Regions from separate parts of the Homo sapiens genome. Here all the other regions are linked to region 4. The links are contacts of gene promoters, found by promoter capture Hi-C in blood cells and fetal thymus (Javierre and others, 2016). All regions are on one chromosome and are shown on one strand. Each heading gives the region's core, a stretch centred on a gene start or on the middle of the fragment in contact. The rest is flanking DNA. Distances are from core to core; before and after follow the strand shown. Region 1 overlaps OR10A7 (olfactory receptor family 10 subfamily A member 7). Region 2 has its middle 24 kb from the start of OR10P1. Region 3 has its middle 24 kb from the start of OR6C6. Region 4 holds the start of OR6C76 (olfactory receptor family 6 subfamily C member 76).

Region 1 (3,478 bases), core at 896-3,395, 200 kb after region 4:
TATACATATGTAACTAACCTGCACATTGTGCACATGTACCCTAAAACTTAAAGTATAATAATAATAAAATAAAATAAAAAAAAAAGAAAATCCTTGTAACCTCAAAAAAATAAATAAATAAATAAATAAACAGCAGTAATTTATCCTCTTACAGTTCAGGAAGCCAGAAGTCTGGAACTAAGATGCCAGCATGTCTGTTTCTTCTGAAGTCTCTAAGGGAAAATCTGTTCCACGCTGCTCCTCTCCTTCGATTTGGTGGTCAACAATCCTTGGTGTTCCTTGGTTTGCACAGTCATCACTCCAATTTCTACATCCATCTTCACATAACTGTCTTCCCTGTGTGTATGACTCTGTCTTCAAATCTCTCTCTCTCTCTCTGCTTATGTGACGACATTAGCCATTGGATTTAGGATCCACCCCAGTCTAGTTTAACCTCATCTTAAATTGATTACATTGCCAGGCCTTGTTTCTAAGTAAGGTCACATTCACAGGTATCAAGGATGAGAACATCAACATATCTTTTTGGGGAAAACAAACCAGTCCACTACAGTGACTACGTATATTTTGTAAAAAATGCTTAAGAGAAACAAAATACCATAAATGACACAGGCTATAAACATAGCCTGTAAATTTATGAAAGATGTAAAAGCTGAATCTGTAAGAAAGTGGGTAAGAAAAAGAGGAAATACCAATTAACTTGTAAAGTGACTGAGTTCTACTAGACCTCCACTATGAGTGTTCCCATGTCAATCACAAAGCATTCCTTATTATTTATTGTTGTCAAATTTTAGTTTCTTACAGTTCTAGAACCTTCTTTACAGATTATTAGAGTGATTTTCAAATAGTTTCTGTTTCAACCAAGAACAATAAGATACTGAATGAAAGAATTGGAAATAGCCTGTGGGTTTTCTCACCACAAAAAGTTGATAAGTATGTGAAGTAATGCGTACGTTAAAATAGCTTGATTTAGCCATTACACAATATGTGTATGTGTATATACATACGCATATATATCTTAAATATTTTTTTGGTCTCATAATTGTTATATATAACATCATGTTGTACACTCTAAATATATACAAGTTTTAATTGTCAAGAATATACTTCTTTTTACTGTGCTAGTTTGTTGGACACATTAACATGCACTACTAAATTTATTTTATAACCTCACAATCTACTTGTGAGTCACATGCAGCTGGTAGAAAACCATCATAATGGAGTCTTATGAGATGGTTATTGAACTTAGTTACATTAATTCAAGAATATCTGAGTTAGGCTTAAAAATTAAGAGATTATTGAAGGAGAAAGATTTAAAGGAATAGTTTTTTTTTTTTACCTCAAACTCCCATTACATGCAATAAATATGTACTTCAGCAAATCAAAATTAAACTAAAACAGTCAATACAAGTTGGAAATTTGTGGTGGCTTTTAAATTTTTCTGAAAATTAACAAAGAAACATGGAGGTTTGTTACTGCTTGAAGAAGAAACTGTACAATTAACAGAAACCTTGGTTAAGGAAGATTTACGGGAACATATATTATTGTTCCAGTTGCATTCTCAAAGCCGATATAAGCTTATTCTACTGGAAATATAAATTTTGCATAATTAAATTTGACAATCTTGTCTTCTCCATTGTTTTGAAAGCCAAATTCCCATGTAGGTGGCAACTTTAACTTAATAAAAATGTGACTAGACATTTTTAAGAGGTTAATATATTGAATTTCAAATTCAAAAGGGTCTGACTCAAACTATTGTGGCCACATCTCAATAGCTTTTGCCTTACCAAGTTACTTACATTTTCTGATTGTAATTTATCTTTTATGAAAAATATAGATATAATAATTATCTCTTGAGTTGTTGCAAGGGCATGTGTCAAAGACAGTTCCTCAATAAACCATGTTTGCTACTACTATTACTCTTTTGCTTTACTCTGGTGTCAAGCAAATATTTCTTGTTTAAACTCTAAGAAGAGCTTACTATTAAATAATTAATGGATAATTTAGCCAATGACTAAAAAAGTCCAAAATCATGTCACCAAATATTAATACTAAGGTAATTTTATTAAATAACTTTATTTAAACATACAACCCATATAAAGAATTTGTATTATGGACTCTTGGCATCTGCAAAACTTTACCTTTTATAATTTTTGTAAGGTTAGATGCCATGATTCGTTGTTACACTGCAATAGCTGCAGAATATACAGTGGTTTGTGGTGGCTGTTCTTACTTATCTTTCATAACTTTCCTTACCCTTTTTCATCCTGCTCTGTGCCCCAGGAGACTCGCATTTATACATTGCATCAACATTCTTGTCCCCATGTTGTATTTGGTTTGGCTTAGAACAGAAGCCAGCAATAGATTTGAGAGAGTCAGATCAAAATAAGGTTGGGATGGCTGCCTTGCTGTACTAAAGAACAGAGATCCTATCAGGTGATTTTTTTTTAATAGTTGTAGCATTCTATTGGTTCCAGTTAACACTCCTTCTACTTGCCCCTTCAGGCCAAGAAGTGTAAAAGTTCTGTTGTATGATCTGTGTGGCTATTACCTAACCTTGTTCACAATTTCTAAATAGCCCTCTCATAAAGCGTTTTCTCACTTATCCCAATTCAGGAGTACCATCTCTTTCCTGCTAGGAACCTGAATGATACACAGAAATGCACCCACCAGTTAGTGATGAAATAAGAGCAACTCTTCCATTCCGTTTTAAGCTTTGGTTAGTAGGTTCTGCTGTCCCTACTTTGGAAGCATTCTTACACAATAGAAGTCAAAACACATCTAACTTCTGTAAGACTTTTTGAGTGATTGTCCTCTTGACAGCCCCTTTCACTTCATTGTTCCTCAGGCCGTAGATGATGGGGTTTAGCATAGGTGTGATGACAGTGTAGGACAATGACACTAGCTTCTTGCTCTCAGGGGACTGGTTTGATTTGGGCCGCAGGTAGGTCAGACTGGCTGTTCCGTAGAAGAGGGACACCACAATGAGGTGTGAGGAACAAGTAGAAAATGCCTTCTGGCGGCCAGTGGCAGAGGACATCCTCAGAATTGTTATGATAATGCGGGTGTAGGAAACCAAAATGAGACAAAAGGGAAACATGATAAACAGGAGTGTGGAGGCAAGTGCTTGCATTTCATACATGGTTGTATCCACTGTGACTAGTTTTAACACTGGGGGACCATCACAGAAAAAGTGGTCCACGGCATTTGGTCCACAGAAAGGAAGGGCCATCATCCAAGCTGTCTGTAGCATAGACACAGGAACACCGGACATCCAAGAGCCTATGGCCATCCACAAGCATAGGGACCTGTTCATTATGACTGAATAATGGAGAGGGTTACAGATGGCCACAAAGCGATCATAAGCCATCATGGAGAGAAGGAAACATTCAGAACTGCCAAAGAAGAAGAAGAAGTACATCTGGGTACCACAGCCCACAAAAGAGATAATTTTCCTTGGGGACACTAGATCTACAAGCAT
Region 2 (3,566 bases), core at 102-2,601, 190 kb before region 4:
TAAAGAAATTAAGAATGTGTTTCAGTGGTCCTTTCAATAAAATAATAGGGATACCAGGACCTTTAAAGATCTTTCAGGCCTTAGCTGTGGTTTTTATCTAATGAAGCAAGCATCAAGAAGATACACTGGAGATCCATAAAGTTCCCGAATGAGTTATATCCCCAGAAACTCTGTCATCTTGGATTGAAAAGAAGACAGTACAAAATAAGAAAGAGGCATTTGGGTCACTGTAATTCTACTGGGAGGAAGAAGGCTGAGAAAACTATTCAGCTACAATTGTGTGCTACTTTTCATGAAAAAGGAAAAAATGACTCAGAGGGCAGGACCAAGGGCCCAAGAGGAATAATGAATTACTCCCAAGTTTTGAATGAGTTAAGGAGTTTCCATCATTTTCAGCTGGATTTCATAATTTTTCTGGACCAGTAATTCCTTTTCTTTTCCTGTTTTTGAGTGGCAATAGTTATAGTTATTCTATGCCTACCCCATCATTGTATGTTGGGTGTGTGTGGGGATGTTAACTTGTCTTTTTTAGTTTCACAGGTCACAGATTGAGAAAAGTAGTTAGGGGCTGTATGTACCTATGGAACTACACCCAAGGAGCTTCATCTACACCTGGACCTGGTTTAGATGATAAGATTGTGGATTTTGATTGGAAACTATAACAAGATGAGACCTTTGATGACTTCGAGAAGGGTGGAATATATATTGCATGTGGGAGGGACATGAATCATTGGTGGACTGTGCCAGAGGGTAGATTGTAATAGGCTGCATGTAATGTTTCCCAAATCATCCCTGCCTTCTGATATTCATGTCTTTGTGTGCTCACCTCTTCTTGAATATGGGCTGGACTAGGTGACTTACTTCTAACAAATAGCATATGATAAAAATGATGTGATGTCACTTTTAACATTAGGTTATAAAACACTTTTGTTTTGGCCATTCTTTCGTTTGTTTGCTCTAAAGAAGGCCAGCTGCCATGTTATGAGCTTTCTTATAGAGTGCCCACATGGCAACAATCACTGAGGAACTAGAGCCTGCTAACAGCAACTGGAGTGAGCAGCTCAGAAGTTAATCCTTCCCTAGTTGAGTCTTTTTTTTTTTTTGAGATGGAGTCTCACTCTGTCACCCAGGCTGGAATGCAGTGGCATGATCTTGGCTCACTGCAACCTTCACCTTCCAGTTTCAAGCAATTCTCTTGCCTCAGCCTGCTGAGTAGATGGGACTACATGTGTATGCCACCATGACTGGCTAAGTTTTGTATTTTTAGTAGAGATGAGGTTTTCCCATGTTGGCCAGGCTGGTCTCAAACTCCTGATCTGAGGTGATCCACCCACCTCAGCCTCCCAAAGTGCTGGAATTATAGGCATGAACCACCATGCCCCACCCCCAGTAGAGTCTTTAGATGAGACAACAGCCCTATTGAGCTGCTCTGAGTTAAGCTGAACCCAAATTACTAACCCATAGAAACCAAGATAATCAATGCTTGCTGTTTTAAGCTGCTAAATTTTGGGATAATTTGCGTGCAGCAAAAGATGACTATTAAATCCAGATGTCTCACATCTGTAGGAAATGTGGTATTGCGTTTAGATCCAGAAGTTGTGGGTTTGAACCCTGGTCTCCTGTGTGATCTTTGGCAATACACTTAAACTGTTTGAGTATATCAACATCTTATGTAAAATGTAAATAATAATTTTTCCATCTGTTTCGCAGGGTTATTGTGAAGATTGAGTGAGGTTAGTGTTGAGAAAATGCTTTTGAAACTATGAAGTGTTCTACAAACATTATAGGTGTTAAAAATGAAACTGGCATGCTGACGAATGTCAGCTGTTACTGGAGTCTAGTTGAGGGCACCTGGGGACATAGGCTAGCTATTTCTCATTTCTTTGGCTGACAGAGTGATAAAAGAAGGTGCAAACCTAAGACTGAGGCTAGGTAATAAGACTCTTCATATGATATCAGGACATTTTCCTTATGGCCTGTGGGGAAACCTGCACCTTGCTGGGGGTGCAATGGGGGCCTAAGCCCCTGACTCCTGCCTCTTGGCCTGATGTCATGTGGACTTACTCTGGAGAAGGCACCCATTTTTTCCCCAGAAGATGACTTTTAGGGCCCTTATTTATTTTGGAACAAAGTCATTTTTCTGACTAGGTCTTTCATTACCTGCTTAACTTGTTGGTTCCTCAGAGTACAGATGAAGGGATTTAACAGTGGGGCAATAATTGTATTGATTAGAGACACTCCCTTGTTGACATCAACCCACTTTCCTGGAGAGGGCTTGACATACATAAAGAAGCAGCTGTCATAACACATGGTAACCATAATGACATGAGAGGAACAGGTAGAGAAAGCCTTCTTCCTCTCCTGGACAGCGGGGATTCTGACAATTGTCTGGATGATCTGGACATAGGACAGGGTGATGAGTACCAAGGTGCCAAACAGTGCTACTAAGGCCAGGGTAAAATCCACCATCTCCAGCACCTTTGGCCCACTGCAGACCACCTCCATTAGAGGCGTGTAGTCACAGAAGAAATGCTTGATGTGGGTATCACAGAATGGAAGCTGACTGGTCAGGATGACAGGCATGATGATGAAGGAGAAACCTAGTAGCCAGCAGGTGAGGATGAGCTGTGTGCAGACTCTACTACTTATGAGCATGGGGTAGTGGAGGGGCTTGCAGATGGCAATATACTGGTCATAGGCCATGGCTGTGAGGAGGAAGAACTCTGTGGCCCCCAGAAGATGTGGAAAAAGTCCTGGGTAATGCACCCAGCAAAGCTAACGGTCTTGGTCCCCATGGCAATGTTGAGCAGCATCTTGGGCACGATGACTGTCTGGAACCAAATTTCTAAGCAGGACAGATTCTGGAGAAATAAGTACATAGATGTCTGCAGGCGGGTGTCCAGCAAGGTCAGGCTGATGATGATCAGGTTCCCAGAGACAGTCACAAGGTAGGCAAGCAGCAGGAGCAGAAAAACAGCCACCTGAAGCTCTTTGGTATCCGTCAGGCCTTGGAGGAAGAACTCAGTCACCACAGTCTGATTGGCCATTGTGGACCTCAAGCCCTTTCCAGAAATGTGCAATTCTGGGCAAATAGGACCATCAGAAATTAGGATGAAAAGGGAAAAATTTCTCCTGAAATGCATCATTTCTTTCCCCCTCCCTGCTGCTTCCCCATGGATTCAGGAAAGCAGAGCAGAAGCTTCTGGAGGTTCTTCCCTAGCAAGAAAAGTTGCCTCTTTCAGAATCTGAGGAACTATTGAATGACAATGACTTTCCTGTCTCCCTCCCTTTATTCCTCCCTGTTTTTTTCTTTTATTCCTTCCGTTTTTTTCCCTCTGAGAAAGCCTACAAAGAATTTTCTGCTGCTCTTCTCAGTCCTCTTTAGAACTGTCACTCACTCATCTTTCAAAATCCAGCTCAAGTGTGACCTCTTCTATGAAGACTTTTCTGAAGTCCTAGGCTGAATTAGCTGCTTCCTCATGGCTCCCATAACATAGTTTTTGCCTCTGCTATATTCCATAGTCAGCTGTATAGGCTAGAGCCTGTCTTCTGTGCTAAACCACCAA
Region 3 (3,566 bases), core at 433-2,932, 150 kb after region 4:
ATGTTTTTCATTTATACAAATCTTGCTAGTGGCAACATTAATACAAATGCACAGTGATACGCTACATAAACTAGAATTTTATCATATCAAACCATTGATTTGTTCCATTCAACAATCATACATACCATCTATCCATCCAACATGCACTGTGAAAGAACACACACAAAAAAATCACATTATAAAATCAAGATAACACGGACAAATAAATGCAATTATATTTACTTTTGTTAAATATTATAACATAAATATCAATAATTTTAAAACTTTCAAATCTAAGTAATTATTGTTTTTTATTTATAATATTTCACCATTATCTACAGGTTAAAAATGTAAAAGGAGGTAAAAAGACTAACTCCTTAATAGGTAGGTTAACTGCTTTCTTTAATAAGTTATATACACAGATTCAGGCAGCTCTTCTGTACTTCAATACTTAAACTAAAAATCCTGGTGAACAGGAAAAATTGATATTTCATTCTTTCCCTAAGCACTTTATTCTACCCCAAAATATGATCAGCTTAAATGATTGTCTTAGAAATATTATTTTAAAATAATTTATTGCATGTTAGGAAAGCTTATCAAATAACTTTTTATACAATTTACTTATATTAAATATTGCATACTTTCCTAAATATGACACACAGTGCAATATGGAAATTAATCATCTCTTTAAGCCATAAAAAACTTATGCCTTCTGTGCATTACAGGAAAATATGAAATACAAACAAATAATTCTCAGAATAACTGAGATCCAAGAACATCATCTCCTAGGGAATTACCATATTGGATCTTACAAAAATGGTCTCTATGGACATAAACACACACACACACGCACACACACACTTTTACTTCTTGTAACTATGCCCCCAGAGAATTCAATATACATTGATTGTCCACCACACATTCTTCTTTTGAAATCCCAGATACATAGTTAAGGAAGGATGTTTTAACTGAGTATGAAAAGTGAATGTGAGATGGAAAACATAGCCTCTTGAAGACCAATTGCCCTAGAGCTGAATGTGCTATATTATAAATACCTATTTCCTTTTTGTTTATTCACTTAACAATATATCCAATCAAACACTCCATATCAATTTATGGAGATATCCCAAAATATTTTATAGCTGCATAGTCCTTCTTTGTGAGAATGTACAAAGTTTCTTTTGTGATTCCATAAGAATTTTAGAATAGTTTTTCTACTTCCATGAAAAATACCTTTAGAATTTTGATAAAGACATCATTGAATCTATTTGTTGCTTTGAGTATTGTGGACATTTATACAATATGAATTCTTTCAATCCATGAGCAGGAGATATCTTTTTATTTATTTGTCTCTTCTTTAGCTTCTATTATCAACGTTTTATAGTATTCAGTGTACAGATCTTTCAAAAATCTACAACACACACAAAAACCGACTGAAAATGGATAAAGACCTAAATGAAAAATCTTAAATCTTAAATTTCTAGAAGAAAACATAGGAGAAAAGCACTTTTATATTGGCCTTGGCAATATTATTTTTAGATATGACACCAAAAGCACAGCCAACAAAAGCAAAACTAGACAAGAGGGATCTAATTAAACTAAACAACTTCTGTACCACAAAAGAAACAATTTACAAAATGAAAAGACAACCTACAGAATAGGAAAAATATTTGAAACTATATATTGATAAGGGGTTAATATAAAAAATCTATAAAGAAATGTAACTTGATAGTAAGAAAACAATTTAAAAACGAGCAAAAGACTTGAATAGACATTTCTAATAAGACATAAACATGACCAATATGTATATGAAAAGGTATTCAGCATCACTAATCATCAGGTAAATGTAAAACCAAACACCAATGATACATTACCTCACACCTGTTAAGATGTCTACTATCAAAAAGACAAGAGACAACAAGTGTCAGTGAAGGTTTGGAGAAAAGAGAACCCTTGTACATTGTTTGTGGGAATGTACATTGGTGCAAACGTTATAAAAACCTGTAGGGAGGATATTCAACAATTTAAAAGTAGAATTACCACATGATCCAGCATTCTCTTTTCTGGGTATATAACAAAAGGAGCTAAAATAAACACCTCATATAAATATCTACACTCTCATGTTCATTGCCACACTATTCATAATAGGTAAGATACGGAAGCAGCCTAAGTGAATATGGATGGATGAATGGATAAGGAAATTTGTTACACACACACACACACACACACACACACACACACACAGAGAAATAATACTGTCATTTTGTGATGACATGGAGAAGCCTAGAGGACATTATGCTAAGTGAAATTAGCCAGACACAGAAAGAAAAATACTGCATGATATTATTAATACTTACTATGGAATAGAACAGTGGTTACCAGGGATGGTGAGGGTAAGGAAACGGAGAAATGTAGGTCAAAGGGTACCAACTTGCAGTTGTGTAGAATGAATAAGTCTAGAGGTCTAATGGACAGCAGGACCATGGTTAATAATATTGTAATATATATTGAAAATTTGTGAAGACAGTAGATTTTAGGTGGTCTTACCACAAACAAGAGATAACTGTGAAAGGTGATGTATATTTTAATTTTCTTACCTTTAGTAATCACTTAACTATGTATATGTATAAAAACATTATGTTGTATATCTTTAATATATAAAATAAAAATAAATTTTTAAAAATACTTCTTATTTAATAATGCTACCTCGATTAATTTCACTTCTCTAATAGCAGTGGCTAATTATGGTTAATTAGCCATTGTTACAATTGTTAACTAAAACTTATAGGAAATTACTTTTTTAGATTAAGCTTTGCACTAGGCCCCAACAGACCACACTACTAAATCAGACTGTAGTCATTCATGCTAAAGATCCAAATCAACAAAGGGAAACTAAGTTGTTACTTGACTTTATGAAATCAGGAGAGAGAGTAACAGCCAGTTTTCCAAATAGCCCAGGTTTAATCTTCAATTGACATGATAATTAAGTTCCCTCTGTTTTAATCTTTACAACCAAAAGTAACATGAAGTAACCTTATGTTAGTCAGTCAGTAATCTTTCTACTGTTCTGTCTCCTGCCCCCAACTTACAAGGAAAGGCTTTGAAACGACCAATCTGCTTTCTGTTCTTTGTTTCTGTTTTTTTCAGCCCTTTTTCTGTTTAGAAAGCCAATCTTCTCCACTGGACTCATTGGAACATGTATTCTGTTTTATGAAATGAAGTATTGCCAGATTCTAGAATTGCAATAAAGCCAATTGAGATCTTTGAACTAAATTTTTACTCCATGATAAATAGAAGTGGATATAGAAGATATTCTTTCCTTGTTTGCCATTTTAGTGAAAATGTATCAACTATTTGCACAATCTATAAAAATCTAGTTTTAATATAAGGGCGTGTGTCTGTGTGTGTGTGTGTCAGTGCACACTTGTTATAAAAATATAACCAATTTACATTTTCTTTATTGCTTTCTATTCATCAGAAATAATTTTTCAAACTGTTAAGACCCTTTTAAGCTTCTGTGGGAATAATAATATGAGTTTTAGTTTATGTCTAGTAATAAGTTCTCTTTGGTTTATTTTATTTATTTT
Region 4 (3,380 bases), core at 506-3,005:
TTCCCCTATTTAAATTATTAAATTCTTAGAGTTTGTTCATATACCAGTTATTACTATATCCCAGAGTTTCCTTTAAGTTTCATTTTAAAGAAAAAAAATGGAAAGAGTGAATATATATATTCACTCTTCATATAGTCACATATATGAATATACACACATATATTATGTGTATTATAAATATATATTTTTTATATATTATATATAAATATATTTATAATATATAAAGATTATACATAAATATAATAGCTTTAGAATATATGTATATATGTGTGCATATTCATATATGTGAATGTATGAACATACAATGTGTACATGTGTGTATATTCATATATGCAAATATATGAATATATGAATATACACATGTATACATACACAAACATTGACACACACAGAAACACACATATATTTGACTACATACATGTGCATGTGTATTCATATATTCACCTATGTGAGTTAACATAGATGATACATTATCATATTCTGTTGAAATAAGTTTGGCAGTGATAAATATAATTACAATTATATTATTTTAAGTATATAGATTAATATAGGAAATGACTTTAGTTCCTTCTTTGAATTGTACCAAGGAATGTGCATCAGATCATTTAATAATGACTTTTCTCTATAAATTCATATAAGGACTTGTAAGAACATTAAATACATTAGTATTTAATTTAACATTAAATAAAATAGTAGAAACAGTTGTGTTCCTGAGAAGACATACAAATAAGAAGACAGAAAGGAACTAAAGCTGAAATCTTTATTGGTTCTTCGGTAAAAAATGTGTGTGTGTTTCATTTATAAATTGCATTCAAATCAGTGTTTTTTTTTTTTGTGGGAAATCTTTCTCAGAACATCCTTAAATGCTTGTTTCACCTGCTGGTTTCTTAGAGTGTAAATAAATGGATTCAGCATAGGAGCGACAGAGGTATTGAGTATAGCTACTCCTTTTGTCAAAGCAACTCCTTCCTTTGCTGATGTTTTCACATACATGAAGATGCAGCTTCCATAAGAGATAGAGACAACAATCACATGTGAGGAGCAGGTTGAAAAGGCTTTTTTTCTTTGCTGTGCTGAGGGGATTCTCAGAATAGTTCTGATGATGTAAGTATAGGAGAGAATTACTAATATCAAAGTGGATATAAGAGTAAACAGAGCTAAAATAAAGCTCATGAGCTCTAGAGTACTTGTGTCTGTGCAAGAGATTTGCAGCAAAGGAGCAGAGTCACAGGTAAAGTGGTCAATGACATTGGAGTCACAGAAATCCAGCTGTAAGCCCATGGCCAGTGGTGGAAAAATTACCAAGAAACCAGCCAGCCAAGAGCTGATTATAAGCTGATAACAGATCCTGTCACTCATGATGGTTGTATAATGCAGAGGCTTACATATAGCCACATAGCAATCATAGGACATAGAGGCCAGGAGGAAAAACTCCGTTGAGCCAAGGAAGATAAAGAAAAATAGCTGAGCTGCACAAGCATTATAAGATATGGATTTGTCCCCTGTTAGAATGCTGATCAGAAATCTAGGATTACAGACAGAAGTAAATGAAATTTCCAAGGAGAAATTCCTGAGGAAGAAATACATGGGGGTCTTCAGGTGGGAATCCAGCAGGGTAAGGGAGATGATAGTTAGATTTCCAGTAACACTCAGTACATACGTAAGAAATAGGAACGAGAAAATCACAACCTGCAGTTGCGGATTATCCGTCAGACCCAGAAGGATGAAATCTGTCACTGATGTTCTATTTTTCATTTCTGATGATTGATTCCTGTCAGAGATTACTGATAAAATCAACATCAAAAGGAACAAAACAATGAGTCCAAAGACAAGTATAAATATTTGCACATTTTTTTTTCAAATACTATTGAATTGTGACAAGAAGCACTTGGGACTTTTAAAATAGTGTATATATATACATTTATATTTCTTATTTTCCATAATTCTGCTTTTAAAGATATATCTTCTATATTTAATATCAGTCACTGCTACATGTTTACTCTGTCTCCATAGTTTACATTTATTTTGGGGAAATGTATTAATAGAACATAAACTTTTCTAATGCTTTACTATTTAGCTAAAATGTAGGGGGCATTATGCTTTGCTTACTGTATCTTTTATAGGAATAAAAATTTGGACTGATGATGTAAATCAGTGATCAACCCAATTTTTTGGTGAAAATTATAAATATCTTTTTTAGGATGTAGACACTACTACCTCTGTTAATTTATCTTTTACCCCTTTCTTTGTAAAACAAAATAATAATTCAGTGGGTAAGTCATTCTAATGTGTTTTGAACATTTAAACAATGGCTTTATATAGATAGTATCCACTTTTTTTTCAATCCACCACACATTCTATTTTCAGGTAATACAGGTGCCTCTGAAACTCCTATCTTTATTCTTGATTTTTTTTAAAGAGCCTTTTCATTAAAATCCAATTAATGTAGTATTTTTCAGTTGAGTGTTTTAAAATTTCTAGTAAAATGTTTTAAATGTAGTCAGGCACCCAAAACATGTTCAGAAAATATTTTAATGAAGTACACAACTACTTCATATATCTAAATCAGATATAAAATGCACAAATACTTCACATATGTTGTCTAGTAACTATCTTGGACACCCACATCTGTAATATGCACCAGCTCTTTCTAAGTGTAAATGTATAAATATTAAGAAAAATATGCTGTGTTCTACCTATTTAATTGCTAGAAATTACCATTTAAAAGATTTTTAAATCTCCATTAATTTCTGAACTATTAAATATGCATATACATAAGAGACAGAGAGGGAAATAAATATGATATGAGATTAATCAGTGCTACAGAATAGAATGGATAGAAGCTAAATCACAAAAAATAAATTTAAAATACTTACCTATTATGAAAATTTGGATGGTTAGAGTTAAATATTGAACAGAAAATAATGTGCTCAATTCTCTTAAATCAAAAGTCATGTAGTGAGTCAATTCTACATGAAGAAATAACTGTTTTTTCTCCCCTCCTACAAAGTTACAGATTTCATCATAAAGATCTTGATGTTTCATCTTAACACATCCAGTGAAATAGTCTCCTCATGTTTCCACCCAACACTGTCCAAAATCTGGAAGCCTGAAATATTCCACCAACCATCTTAACAATAAATCCTTAGTTAAAAGTTTTGCTGACATAAATGAAAAAAATTCTAGAATTATTTACGATAGGCTATTCTGATACTTCACAGAGGGCCATTTCTATTAATTTTCCCTAGGAAAAAAGTAAATAATACCTTTAATATATTTTCCTTTACATAATTTCAGAAATATGCTTTAAGGAAACAAATGCTTAATGACATTTGGGATAAACAATAATAGGGCATTAGTGAATCCATGTACAAGTTTGA

The links. Contacts are between HindIII fragments. The CHiCAGO score rates a contact against its expected background, and 5 or more counts as called.
Region 1: a contact is called between a fragment that was not itself captured here and the fragment with the promoter of OR6C76 in region 4, in 1 of 17 cell types (neutrophils). The highest score is 5.4, in neutrophils.
Region 2: a contact is called between a fragment that was not itself captured here and the fragment with the promoter of OR6C76 in region 4, in 1 of 17 cell types (erythroblasts). The highest score is 5.1, in erythroblasts.
Region 3: a contact is called between a fragment that was not itself captured here and the fragment with the promoter of OR6C76 in region 4, in 1 of 17 cell types (neutrophils). The highest score is 5.1, in neutrophils.

The regions. Positions count from the first base shown.
Region 1 is chr12:55,221,265-55,224,742 of GRCh38, reverse strand. OR10A7 (olfactory receptor family 10 subfamily A member 7) reads right to left here. Exons shown (of 1, transcript NM_001005280.1): 1 at 2,768-3,478. The coding sequence ends at 2,768. Among named protein-coding and RNA genes, the nearest start is that of OR10A7, 2.0 kb to the right of the region's middle. The HindIII fragment of the contact is 1,137 bases long and covers 1,577-2,713 here.
Region 2 is chr12:55,611,104-55,614,669 of GRCh38, reverse strand. It overlaps the pseudogene OR6U2P. Among named protein-coding and RNA genes, the nearest start is that of OR10P1, 24 kb to the left of the region's middle. The HindIII fragment of the contact is 3,700 bases long and covers 1-3,201 here.
Region 3 is chr12:55,270,329-55,273,894 of GRCh38, reverse strand. No RefSeq gene overlaps it. Among named protein-coding and RNA genes, the nearest start is that of OR6C6, 24 kb to the left of the region's middle. The HindIII fragment of the contact is 2,218 bases long and covers 574-2,791 here.
Region 4 is chr12:55,424,629-55,428,008 of GRCh38, reverse strand. OR6C76 (olfactory receptor family 6 subfamily C member 76) reads right to left here and starts at 1,755. Exons shown (of 1, transcript NM_001005183.1): 1 at 817-1,755. The coding sequence starts at 1,755. The coding sequence ends at 817. The HindIII fragment of the contact is 7,547 bases long and covers 1-3,380 here.